Linked DNA regions of Homo sapiens: regions 1 and 2 are each linked to region 3. The links are contacts of gene promoters, found by promoter capture Hi-C in human tissues and cell types (Jung and others, 2019). All regions are on one chromosome and are shown on one strand. Each heading gives the region's core, a stretch centred on a gene start or on the middle of the fragment in contact. The rest is flanking DNA. Distances are from core to core; before and after follow the strand shown. Region 1 overlaps SLC22A25 (solute carrier family 22 member 25). Region 2 overlaps SLC22A25 (solute carrier family 22 member 25). Region 3 holds the start of SLC22A24 (solute carrier family 22 member 24).

What was found. The method cuts DNA at HindIII sites, captures the fragments that hold promoters and counts their contacts. A contact is called where the count stands out against the background at its distance.
Region 1: a contact is called between a fragment that was not itself captured here and the fragment with the promoter of SLC22A24 in region 3, in 2 of the 25 tissues and cell types used here (H1 embryonic stem cells and adrenal gland).
Region 2: a contact is called between a fragment that was not itself captured here and the fragment with the promoter of SLC22A24 in region 3, in 1 of the 25 tissues and cell types used here (IMR-90 fibroblasts).

The regions. Positions count from the first base shown.
Region 1 is chr11:63,201,360-63,204,805 of GRCh38, forward strand. All of the region lies in intron 7 of SLC22A25 (solute carrier family 22 member 25), which reads right to left. Among named protein-coding and RNA genes, the nearest start is that of SLC22A25, 41 kb to the right of the region's middle. RefSeq lists a silencer at 1,134-1,313. The HindIII fragment of the contact is 4,564 bases long and covers 1-3,446 here.
Region 2 is chr11:63,177,897-63,181,538 of GRCh38, forward strand. It overlaps SLC22A25 (solute carrier family 22 member 25), which reads right to left. Exons shown (of 12, transcript NM_199352.6): 9 at 2,764-2,879. Among named protein-coding and RNA genes, the nearest start is that of SLC22A24, 35 kb to the left of the region's middle. The HindIII fragment of the contact is 4,974 bases long and covers 1-3,642 here.
Region 3 is chr11:63,142,879-63,146,561 of GRCh38, forward strand. It overlaps SLC22A24 (solute carrier family 22 member 24), which reads right to left and starts at 1,343. Exons shown (of 10, transcript NM_001136506.2): 1 at 500-1,343. The coding sequence starts at 901. The HindIII fragment of the contact is 8,571 bases long and covers 1-3,683 here.

The DNA of each region.
Region 1 (3,446 bases), core at 109-2,608, 58 kb after region 3:
ACAACTCTCTGATCTTCAACAAAACTGACAAAAACAAGCAATGGGGGAAATAATTCCCTATTCAATAAATGGTGCTATGATAACTGGCTAGACATATTCAGAAGACTAAAACTGAACTCCTTACTTACACCATGTACAAAAATTAACTCAATATAAATTGAAAACTTAAACGTAAAATCCCAAACTATAAAAACCCTGGAAGACAACCTAGGCAATACCATTCAGGACATAGGCACAGGAAAAGATTTCATGATAAAAACACCCAAAGCAATTGCAACCAAAGCAAAAATTGACAAATGGCATCTAACTAAACTAAAGAGCTTTTGCACAGTAAAAGAAACTATCAACAGAGTAAACAGACAACCTACAGAATGGGAGAAAATTTTTGCAAACTATGCATCCAATAAAGGTCTGATATTCAGAATCTATAAGGAAGTTAGACAAAATTTCAATAAAAAAACCCCATTAAAAGTGGGCAAAGAGGGGTGGCTGGCAAGATGGCTGAAGAGGAACAGCTCTGGTCTGCAGCCCCCAGCGAGATCAATGCAGAAGGTGGGTGATTTCTGCATTTCCAACTGAGGTACCTGGCTCATCTTATTGGGACTGGTTAGACAGTGGGTGCAGCTCACAGAGGGTGAGCAGAAGCAGGTTGGGACATCACCTTGCCTGGGAAGTGCAAGGGGTTGGGTAACTCACTCCCCTAGCCAAGGGAAGCCATGAGGGACTGTGCTGTGAGGGACGGTGCATCTGGGCCCAGATACTATGCTTTTCACATGGTCTTCACAGCCCGCAGACCAGGAGATTCCCTTGGGTGCTTATACCACCAGGGACCTGGGTTTCAAGCACAAAACTGGGTAGTCATTTGGGCAGACACTGAGCTAGCTGCAGGAGTTTTTTTTTTTTTAATACCCCAGTGGTGCCTGGAATGCCAGTGAGACAGAACCATTCACTCCCCTGTAAAGGGGGCACTGAAGCCAGGGAGTTAAGTGGTCTAGCTCAGTAGATCCCACCCCCATGGAGCCAAGCAAGCTAAGATCCACTGGCTTGAAATTCTCACTGCCAGCACAGCAGGCTGAAGTCGACTTGGGACACTAGAGCTTGGTGAGGGGAAGGGTGTCCAACATTACTGAGGCTTGAGTAGGCGGTTTTCCCCTCACAGTGTAAACAAAGACACAAGGAAATTTGAATTGGGCGGAGCCCACCACGGCTCAGTGCCTAAGCTGCTGTAGCCAGACTGCTTCTCTAGATTCCTTCTCTCTGGGCAGGGCATCTCTAAAAGAAAGGAAGCAGCCCCAGTCACGGGCTTATAGATAAAATTCACATATCCCTGGGACAGGGCACGTGGGGGAAGGGGCGGCTGTGGGCGCAGCTTCAGCAGACTTAAACGTTCCTGCTTGCTGGCTCTGAAGAGAGCAGTGGATCTCCGAGCACAGTGCTTGAGCTCTGCTAAGGGACAGACTGACTCCTCAAGTGGGTCCCTGACCCCGGTGCCTTCTGACAGGGAGACACTTCCCAGCAGGGGTTGACAGACACCTCATACAGGAGAGCTCCAGCTGGCATCTGGCAGGTGCCCCTCTGGGATGAAACTTCCAGAGGAAGGAGCAGGCAGCAATCTTTGCTGTTCTGCAGCCTCTGCTGGTGATACCCAGGGAAACAGGGTCTGGAGTGGACCTCCAGCAAATGCCATCAGACCTGCGGCAGAGGGGCCTGATTATTAGAAGTCAAACTAACAAACAGAAAGGAATAGCATCAACATCAACAAAAAGTACAATCACACAAAAACCCCATCTGAAGGTCACCGACATCAAAGACCAGAAGTAGATAAATCCACAAAGATGAAGAAAAACCAGTGCAAAAAGGCTGAAAATTCCAAAACCAAGAATGCCTCTTCTCCAAAGGATCACAACTCCTTGGCAGCAAGGGAACAAAACTGGACACAGAATGAGCTTGACAAATGGACAGAAGTAGGCTTCAGAAGGTGGGTAATAACAATCTCCTCTGAGCTAAAGGAGCATGTTCTAACCCAATGCAAGGAAGCCAAGAACCTTGAAAAAAGGATAGATGAATGGCTAACTAGAATAACCAGTTTAGAGAAGAACATAAATGACCTGATGGAGCTGCAAAACACAGCATGAGAACTTCATGAAGCATACACAAGTATCAATAGCAAAATTGATCAAGCAGAAGAAAGTATATCAGAGATTGAAGATCAACTTAATGAAATAAGGTGTGAAGACAAGATTAGAGAAAAAAGAATGAAAAGGAATGAACAAAGTCCCCAAGAAATATAGGACTATGTGAAAAGACCAAACCTATGATTGACTGGTGTACATGAAAGTGACGAGGAGAATGAAACCAAATTGGAAAATACTCTTCAGGCTATTATCCAGGAGAACTTCCCCAACCTAGCAAGACAGGCCAACATTCAAATTCAGGAAATACAGAGAACACCACAAAGATACTCCTCGAGAAGAGCAACCCCAAGACAGATAAGCATCAGATTCAGCAAGGTTGAAATGACAGAAAAAATGTTAGGGGTAGCCAGAGAGAAAGGTCAGGTTACCTACAAAGGGAAGCCCATCAGACTAACAGTGGATCACTCTGCAGAAACCCTACAAGCCAGAAGAGAGTGGGAGCCAATAATCAACACTCTTAAAGAAAAGAATTTTTAACCCAGAATTTCATATCCAGCCAAACTAAGCTTCATAATTGAAGGAGAAATAAAATCCTTTGCAGACAAGCAAATGCTAAGAGATTTTGCCACCACCAGGCCTGCCTTACAAGAGCTCCTGAAGGAAGCACTAAATATAAAAAGGAAAAACTGGTAGCAGCCACTGCAGAAACATACCAAATTGTAAAGACCATTGACAATATGAAGAAACGGCATCAACTAATGGGCAAAATAACCAGCTAGCATCATAACGACACTATGAAATTCACATATAACCATATTAACCTTAAATGTAAATGGGCTAAATGCCCCAAATAAAATACACAGATGGGCAAATTGGATAAAGAGTCAAGACCCATCTGTGTGCTGTATTCAGGAGATCCATCTCACATGCAAGAACACACATAGGCTCATAATAAAGGGATGGAAGAATATTTACCAAGCAAATAGAAAGAAAAGCAGGGGTTGTAATCCCAGTCTCTGATAAAACAGACTTCAGACTTTAAACCAAAAAAGATCAAAAAAGTCAAAGAAAGGCATTACATAATGGTAAAGGGATAAATGCAACAAGAAGAGCTAAGTATCCTAAATATAAATGCACCCAATACAGGAGCACCCACATTCATAAAGCAAGTTCTTAGAGACCTACAAAGAGACTTAGACTCCCACACTATAATATTGGGAGACTTTAACACCCCACTGTCAATATTAGATAGATCAATGAGACAGAAAATTAACAAGGATATTCAGGACTTGAACTCAGCTCTGCACCAAG
Region 2 (3,642 bases), core at 835-3,334, 36 kb after region 3:
ATAATGTATATCCCATTTTCTTTTTTTTTGACAGGGTCTCACTCTGTCTTAAAAGTGACACTCCACCTCCTTGGGCTCAAGCTATCCTCCCATCTCAGCCTCCAGAGTAACTGGGACTACACATATGTGCCACCATGCCTGGCTAATTTTTTGTATTTTTATTTATTTTTTTTTTTGCAGAGTCAGGGTTTTGCCATGTTACTCAGGCTGATCTGAACTTCTGGACTCAAGCAATCCATCCACCTTGGCCTCCCAAAATTCTGGGATTACAGGTGTGGGCCACCACGCCCTGCCAATATACCCCATTTTCTTTATACAGCCATTGATAAACATTTAGGTTGATACCATATCTTGGCTTTTGGGAATACTGCTGCAAAAAACATAGAAGTGCAGATATCTCTTCAATATGCTGATTTTCTACCTTTGCATATATATCCAAAAGTGAGACTGCTGGATAATATGGTATTTCCATTTTTAATCTTTTCACAAAATTTTATATTGTTTTGCATAGTGGCTGTACTGATTTATATTCCCACCAACAGTGTGCAAACATCCCCCTCTATATGCATCTTCCCCAGCATTTTTTTTTTTGTCTTTTTGATAATATTTTAACTGGGGTGAAATAATATCTTATTGTGGTTTTAATTTACATTTTTTCTGGTGATTAACTGTATTGAGCATTTTTTATACTTGTTGGTCATTTGTATATCTTATTTTAAGAAATGTCTATTCAGGTATCTTGCCCATTTAAAAATAAGCTTATTTGTTTTTTTGCTACTGAGTTGTTTATGTTCCTTATAGGTTTGATTTATTAATCCCTTGTCGGTTGAATAGTTTGCAATTTTTTTTCTATTCTGTAGGTTGTTTCTCCACTTTGTTGATTGTTTTCCTTTGTTGTGCAGAAGATTTTTAGCTTGATGTAATTCCATTTGTCATTTTTTTTGCTTTGTTTGCCTGTGCTTTTGACTTTTTACTCAAGAAAACTTTGCTAATAGCAATGTCCTAAAGGATTTCCTCAATGCTTTCTTCTAGTATTATCATAGTTTTAGGTCTTACATTTAAGTCTGTAATTTTTTTTTTTTTGAAATGGGGTTTTGCTCTGTCACCCAGGCTGGAGTGCAGTGGTGCAATCTTGGCTCACTGCAACCTCCACTTCGTGGGTTGAAGCAATTCTGGTGCTTCAGCCTCCTGAGTAGCTGGGATTACAGGGCCATGATGCCCGGCTAATTTTTGTAATTTTAGTAGAGATGGGTTTCACCATGTTTGGCCAGGCTGGTCTTGAACTCCTGACCTCAGGTGATCCGCCTGCCTCAGGCTCTCAAAATGCTGGAATTACAGGCATGAGCCACTGTGCCTGGTCTATATCTCTCCATTTCTTTATGATCAGTTTCTTAAGATTTATTTTGTTCCCTTTTGTGTCATATTTCTCTGTTTCTTCGTGTTCTTTGTAGCTTTGCATTGGTATCTATACATTTGAAGAAATAGCCACCTCTTCCTGTCTTCCCAGACTGGCTTTTACAATCAGCCCAGATAGAGATTCTGGGGACCTTCAATTCTACTCTGTGAAAGTATCTTCTCTGTATTTGTGCATGTAGATTCCTAATTAGAGGGATTTCCTGGTTTCTGTTTTTCAGGAACTGGCAATCTCTTGCTTTCTGTGGTATCTGTCTGCCATACCATGAGTCCTCTGATGTAGCAGCTTAACACCCAGCTGTCTTTGTTCTCAGTAGTTCTGAGGCATCTAGAGTGCGTGTGGGGTCCTACTGGCATAATGGTTGGGCTAGAAAAAAACTAATTTCTTGGGCAGCTCCCTGGAAAATCAGTATATCAGACACATACTGAGCTCCTTTCCCTCCTGAGGGAGAAATCTCAAGTTGTGCATATTCTTTTCATTGCACTGAGCTGTGTGAGTCACAGCTTTCTTTTGTACTCACTTTGTCCTCAGTGACCTTAGGCATCCAAATATGCCAGTTCCATCAGTGCTCTGAGTGAGGGGAGACAGAGACCAGTTCCTCACACAGTGTGTCCAAAGGCCAAGGTGTGGCTGAATGCTCTACTCTTTCCTTCCCTGTGAGGGAAAAGTCATAGGCCAGGGTGTCCTCTCTTGGCATGAGCTGTAACAACTTTGGGAAGGGGTTGTCATGTATAAACTGACATTACTCTTCTTGCCCATTTCAGTGCAACTGTTTTTGGTTTCGTGCTCATCTGGGGCATTACAATGTCTTGTCTCAGTTTTGAAATTCTCATAGAAGTATTTTTGTCCAGTCATTATTTAATCAGTGTTTCTGTGTGCGGTTGAGGGGTAGGATTTTCTGTTACGTCATCTTGCTGAACTTGTGATCATTTCCCAGTGTTTTAGAATTTTTTCTATACCTTGATCTGAGTGGTAGCTAGATATTAATAACTGGTAATATTCATTGATCTGTGTACATTCATATGATTTGCTGTTTATAAATTAGCTCAATTAAAATGGAAACAAATGAAGAAACTTTGAGTCTAAACCTATACTATAATTGAAGTTCTTAGCATAAGTCTCCACTGATGAGCCTGGTAGAATGATGTTATAAACAGAAATTGTGTAATTAATTCTGTGTCAGCCTTTTCATAACCCTTTTACCACTTTTAAAAATAGCAATTCTCTTTATGGATTTATCATCTTTTATCCCCCAAATATTTTCCTTCAACATGTTGTATCATTTGAAATAAGAAATGGATTTATGTCTCCTCTATTTTAACATTCCTCACACACTGCATGAAACTTACCTCACAAAGGACAGGAAACAGATTCTTTTACATATGTTGGGTATGCGGAGCAATTCACAAAGAGAATGCTTTTTCTGTGCTGCCTCCAGTTCTTGCTTCATGGTGGATTTCAAAACCTTCAACAACAACAGAAGCAATAAACTGTTCAGTTGTCACAAAATGGTAGGCATTGTAAGAGGACTTGTCAACCAACAGATGACAAGATAGATGACATCCCTTTCTGTCTAGCAGAAAATACATGGCTTAAAAATGCAATGGCAAATATAAAAGTGGTATGGAAGTTAGAATAGAGAGTTAAAGAAGCCTCAGAGAAATTATTTATCAAGGCTATTTTAGACAAGAGATTTAATTGGCTGCAGAGCATTGAAAAGAATATGTAGGTTAGAGATTCAGATCAGGATGGGGAAAAAAATGAAGAGTTACTTGGATTAAACTCCAAAGCTCCATTTATACCAGATGGGCCCCAAAGACCTGGTTCTCAGCTGAACTGCCTTTGGTGAAAAACAGTTTGCCTGCCTCAGGAAAGAGATAAATTTCCTGAGAGAGTTTATTTTGGTTCTTGTTTCAGAAATGCTGGAGGTTTGGGAGTGGGGTACTTTCTTCCTAACCCTTATGTTTTATTATTATACTTTAAGTTTTAGGGTACATGATATACATGTGCCATGTTGGTGTGCTGCACCCATTAACTCGTCATTTAGCATTAGGTATATCTCCTAATGCTATCCTTCCCCCCTCCCCCCACCCCACAACAGTCCTGGTGTGTGATGTTCCCCTTCCTGTGTCCATGTGTTCTCATTGTTCAATTCCCACCTATGAGTGAGAACATGCGGTGTTAGTTTTTTTGTCCTTGCGATAGTTTGATGAGAATGATGGATGAAG
Region 3 (3,683 bases), core at 93-2,592:
CTAATTTGAGTAGTAATAAAACTCTGGCCTCCCTCAAAAAACAAAAAGCAAAAAACAAAAACAACCAAAACTAAGTATCTCAACAACATTTTGTAGGAGAAACACTTTCACAACCAGCAGAATGCAGAAAAATTTGTCAAATCCCAAAGCGTGGATATTTATGTTACAGAATTAACAAACTTATTTCTCATTGCCAAAAATGTGTTGATTGTAATGGTTCCTATTTTGATTAATAAAGATGTGTTTGAGCCTAGTTATAATGATTTAAAATTCATGGTCTAATACCACAATTTACTTTTACACCAATATAATACTAATACACTTGGCTGTATCGTAGAGTATTAATAGATAATCAGGTGCTGCCACCTGCTAAAGGAATGAAGAATGAGCTGACTGCAGGTCCCATCTAAGGACTAAAGGTATAAAGCAAGTCAATTTTTTTGTGTTAACTCCAAACACTTTAATCATATAAACAGAAGATTTACATGGGGCCTCTTACCTCAGTCACGATGGTGGAGAGGAAAGAGCTTCTGTCGTACACCCAGCCATCCACACAGGGCTCCGTGTCTGGCTCATTTGTGTTGGGGAAGGTCCCGTTCAGGTGAAGGAGCTGCCACTGGGGATGGATAAAGCGCTGACACTTCTGTGGCCTCAGGTTTGAGTCCAGTGGGATGGAGATTCTCAGGAGGTCATCCTTGCTGAGGGTCCCGGTATCATTGTCAGACACAGTGTCATTGTCCAGGAGGGGGACCCAGCAGCGATGACTAGGGGTGAATGCAGTGAAGTTCTCCAACACAATATTAGGGAACAGTAGGATGTTGGTGATGCAAAAGAAAGCTATCAGACAAATCTGGAATCTCCCCATGCCACCCACTTGATCCAGGAGCACATCAAAGCCCATTGAGACTGAACAGGTGATCCCCAAGAGGAAGCACAATGACTTTATGAAGAGAAGTTCAGAGGGAGAAAATGTCCCCTTTCACAAAGTTACCATAGTGCCATGTGGATCCTGACACTGCTTTCTTCTTGGTGGGCCCTGCACTGAGTGGTGTGACACTACTGCAGAAGAGCAGTGGAAGGACTTTCCCCAAGTCCTTTAACTTTAGGCAGCCAAATAGTTTCAGAAGTCACAGATATAATTATTTGGCAAAGAGACTGCTAGCTGTTGACAACTGAATCTTCTTAAAAGACTACTCTGTGAAAGATCCTGATCTCTGAGTTTCCTGATAAGTCAACGGTGGATTTTCAGGTGGATGCAGTCCCCACGTGACCTAAAATACACCTGTTCAATAGTCTGCCATTCTTCTTAGAAATGGGATATTAGAAAATCCAAAGTGAATTGCTTTATGATGTTCTTGTACAAAGATCAGAGAGCAGGGCTTTTTTTGGACTAGGACTGAGTTTTACTAAAAGTTAATAAAAACTATTCTTAGTTAAAGGAAAGTGGAATGTTGAGTTTAAACATTGACTTTTGCTAAGTGTAGTTCTGCTTCAGTTCAAGTCATACCAATGACAGGGCTTTAAAGATTTTTTAAAATAGGGAAATTAGGATAAGAAACAAAGAGAAAGGAAATAGTGCTTTTATGTATTATAGTAGTATATTTCACCAGATTTATTGATTCATTCAAATATCATTTTGGGCTTTCTGGTGCTATTGCTGTAAATAAAGCAATGTTAACTTACATATATTTATTTATAAGTTTAAAATAAAATTTGAGCTCAATGTCTCATATAAATGATAGGTTTGTAAATAATTGTACTGTAATGTCATCATATAACTATAAGGAAGATACACAGTGTGCTATGGAAGATTAAGGAGAAACTGTTTAATGATACCTGGATAGATGCCATGGAGCAGGGGAGTCATCCCTCTACAAATTAACTTTACCTACTCTTTTTTTTTTTGAGACAAAGTATCACTCTGTCACCAGGCTGGAGTGCAGCGGTGGGATCTTGGCTCTCTGCAGCCTTGACCTCCTGGGTTCAATCAATTCTCATGTCTCAGCCTCCCAAGTAGCTGGGATTACAGGCATTCACCCACATGCCCAGCTAATTTTTGTATTTTTTATGGAGAAGGGGTTTCATCATATTGGCCAGGCTGGCCTCAAACTCCTGACCTCATGTGATCTGCCCACCTCAGCCTCTGAAAGTGCTGGGATTACAGGCATGAGCCACCATGCCCAGCCAGCTTGACCTACTCTTGTGGGAAGATTCTTGAGATAATGAAGCAGTGGATGAGGGACTGCAAGAGTCAATTTTTAAATGAGGGAATAATAAGTACACAATTACAGTTAAAGGTGTGGCATAATTGTGTACCTACAAGGATATTCAAAAGCTAGCAGCTAAATAGCATGCACGGATATAATGGGAAAAGACAGGTTGATTAAAAAGAAACCCAAAGAAACAAACAGAATCTCCAGAATTTATTCTGCCTACAAGAAGTTCTTATTTTTGAATTTCAAACTGGTCACCCGTGAAACATCTTAAGATGCAGATTCCTGGATGGGTGCAGTGGCTCACACCCATAATCCCAGCTACTCAGGAGGCTGAGGCAGGAGAGCCACTTGAACCTGGGAGTGAAGGTTGCAGTGAGCTGAGATTGTGCCACTGCACTCCAGCCTGGGTGACACAGCAAGACTCTGTCTCAAAAAAAAAAAAAAAAAAAAAAAAAAAAAAAAAAAAAAGCAGATTCCTGTCCAGCCTGCAGAGATTCTCTGTTCAGGAAATGACTTTCATGGATCTATTCCAAACAGGAAATCTAATACATCACAGGGTTTTGTTGTAAATTGTTAGAAATGTTTTAGTTCACTAGGGCTGCATAACAAAATACCACAGACTTAACAGAAGGTGACTTTACAGAAGTTTATTTTCTCACAGTTCTGAAGGCTGAAAGTCTAAGATCAAGGTGTCAACAGATTTGATTTCCTCTGAGCCTCTCTCTTTGGTTTGTCAATAGCTGCCTTCTCGTCATGTCCTCACATATTCTTTCATTTATGCATGTGCACACCTGGTGTTCCTTCCTCTTCTTATAAGGACACTAGTCATATTGGATCAGGGCCCCACCCTATGGGTCTCATTTTAACCTATCCCCAAATATGGTTGTATTTTGAGGTATTAGGGGTTGGGACTTTGACATAGGAATTTTGGGAGTGGGAGACACAATTCACCCCATAATGGGGTTAGACAATCACAATTATATTTTACTAAAGTTACTGACACAGTGTAAAAATAGTAAGAAGTGAACGTTCCAGCAAGGCAAACCATTCAGAACCACAAGAATAAAATGATGTAAAGAATGATTACAGCTGTGAATTCACTGAGTATTCGCTATAAGTCGATTCTGTTGTAAGCACTTTTAATGTTTTCCTTATTTTAGTTCTCACCCTTGTTATCTACATTTTACCCCTGAGAAAACAAAGGACTAGACACATTAAATAACTTGCCAAAGGATATACAGAGTGTAAGTGGTAGAGCCAAAATATGGACCATGGTAGTCTAAAGGAAAATCTCTTACTCACTTTAATAAATGACTTATTTTCTTTTTCTTTTCTTTTATTTTATTATTATTATACTTTAAGTTTTAGGGTACATGTGCACAACGTGCAGGTTAGTTACATATGTATACATGTGCCATGCTGGTGCGCTGCACCCATTAACTCATCAGTAAATGACTTATTTTCATC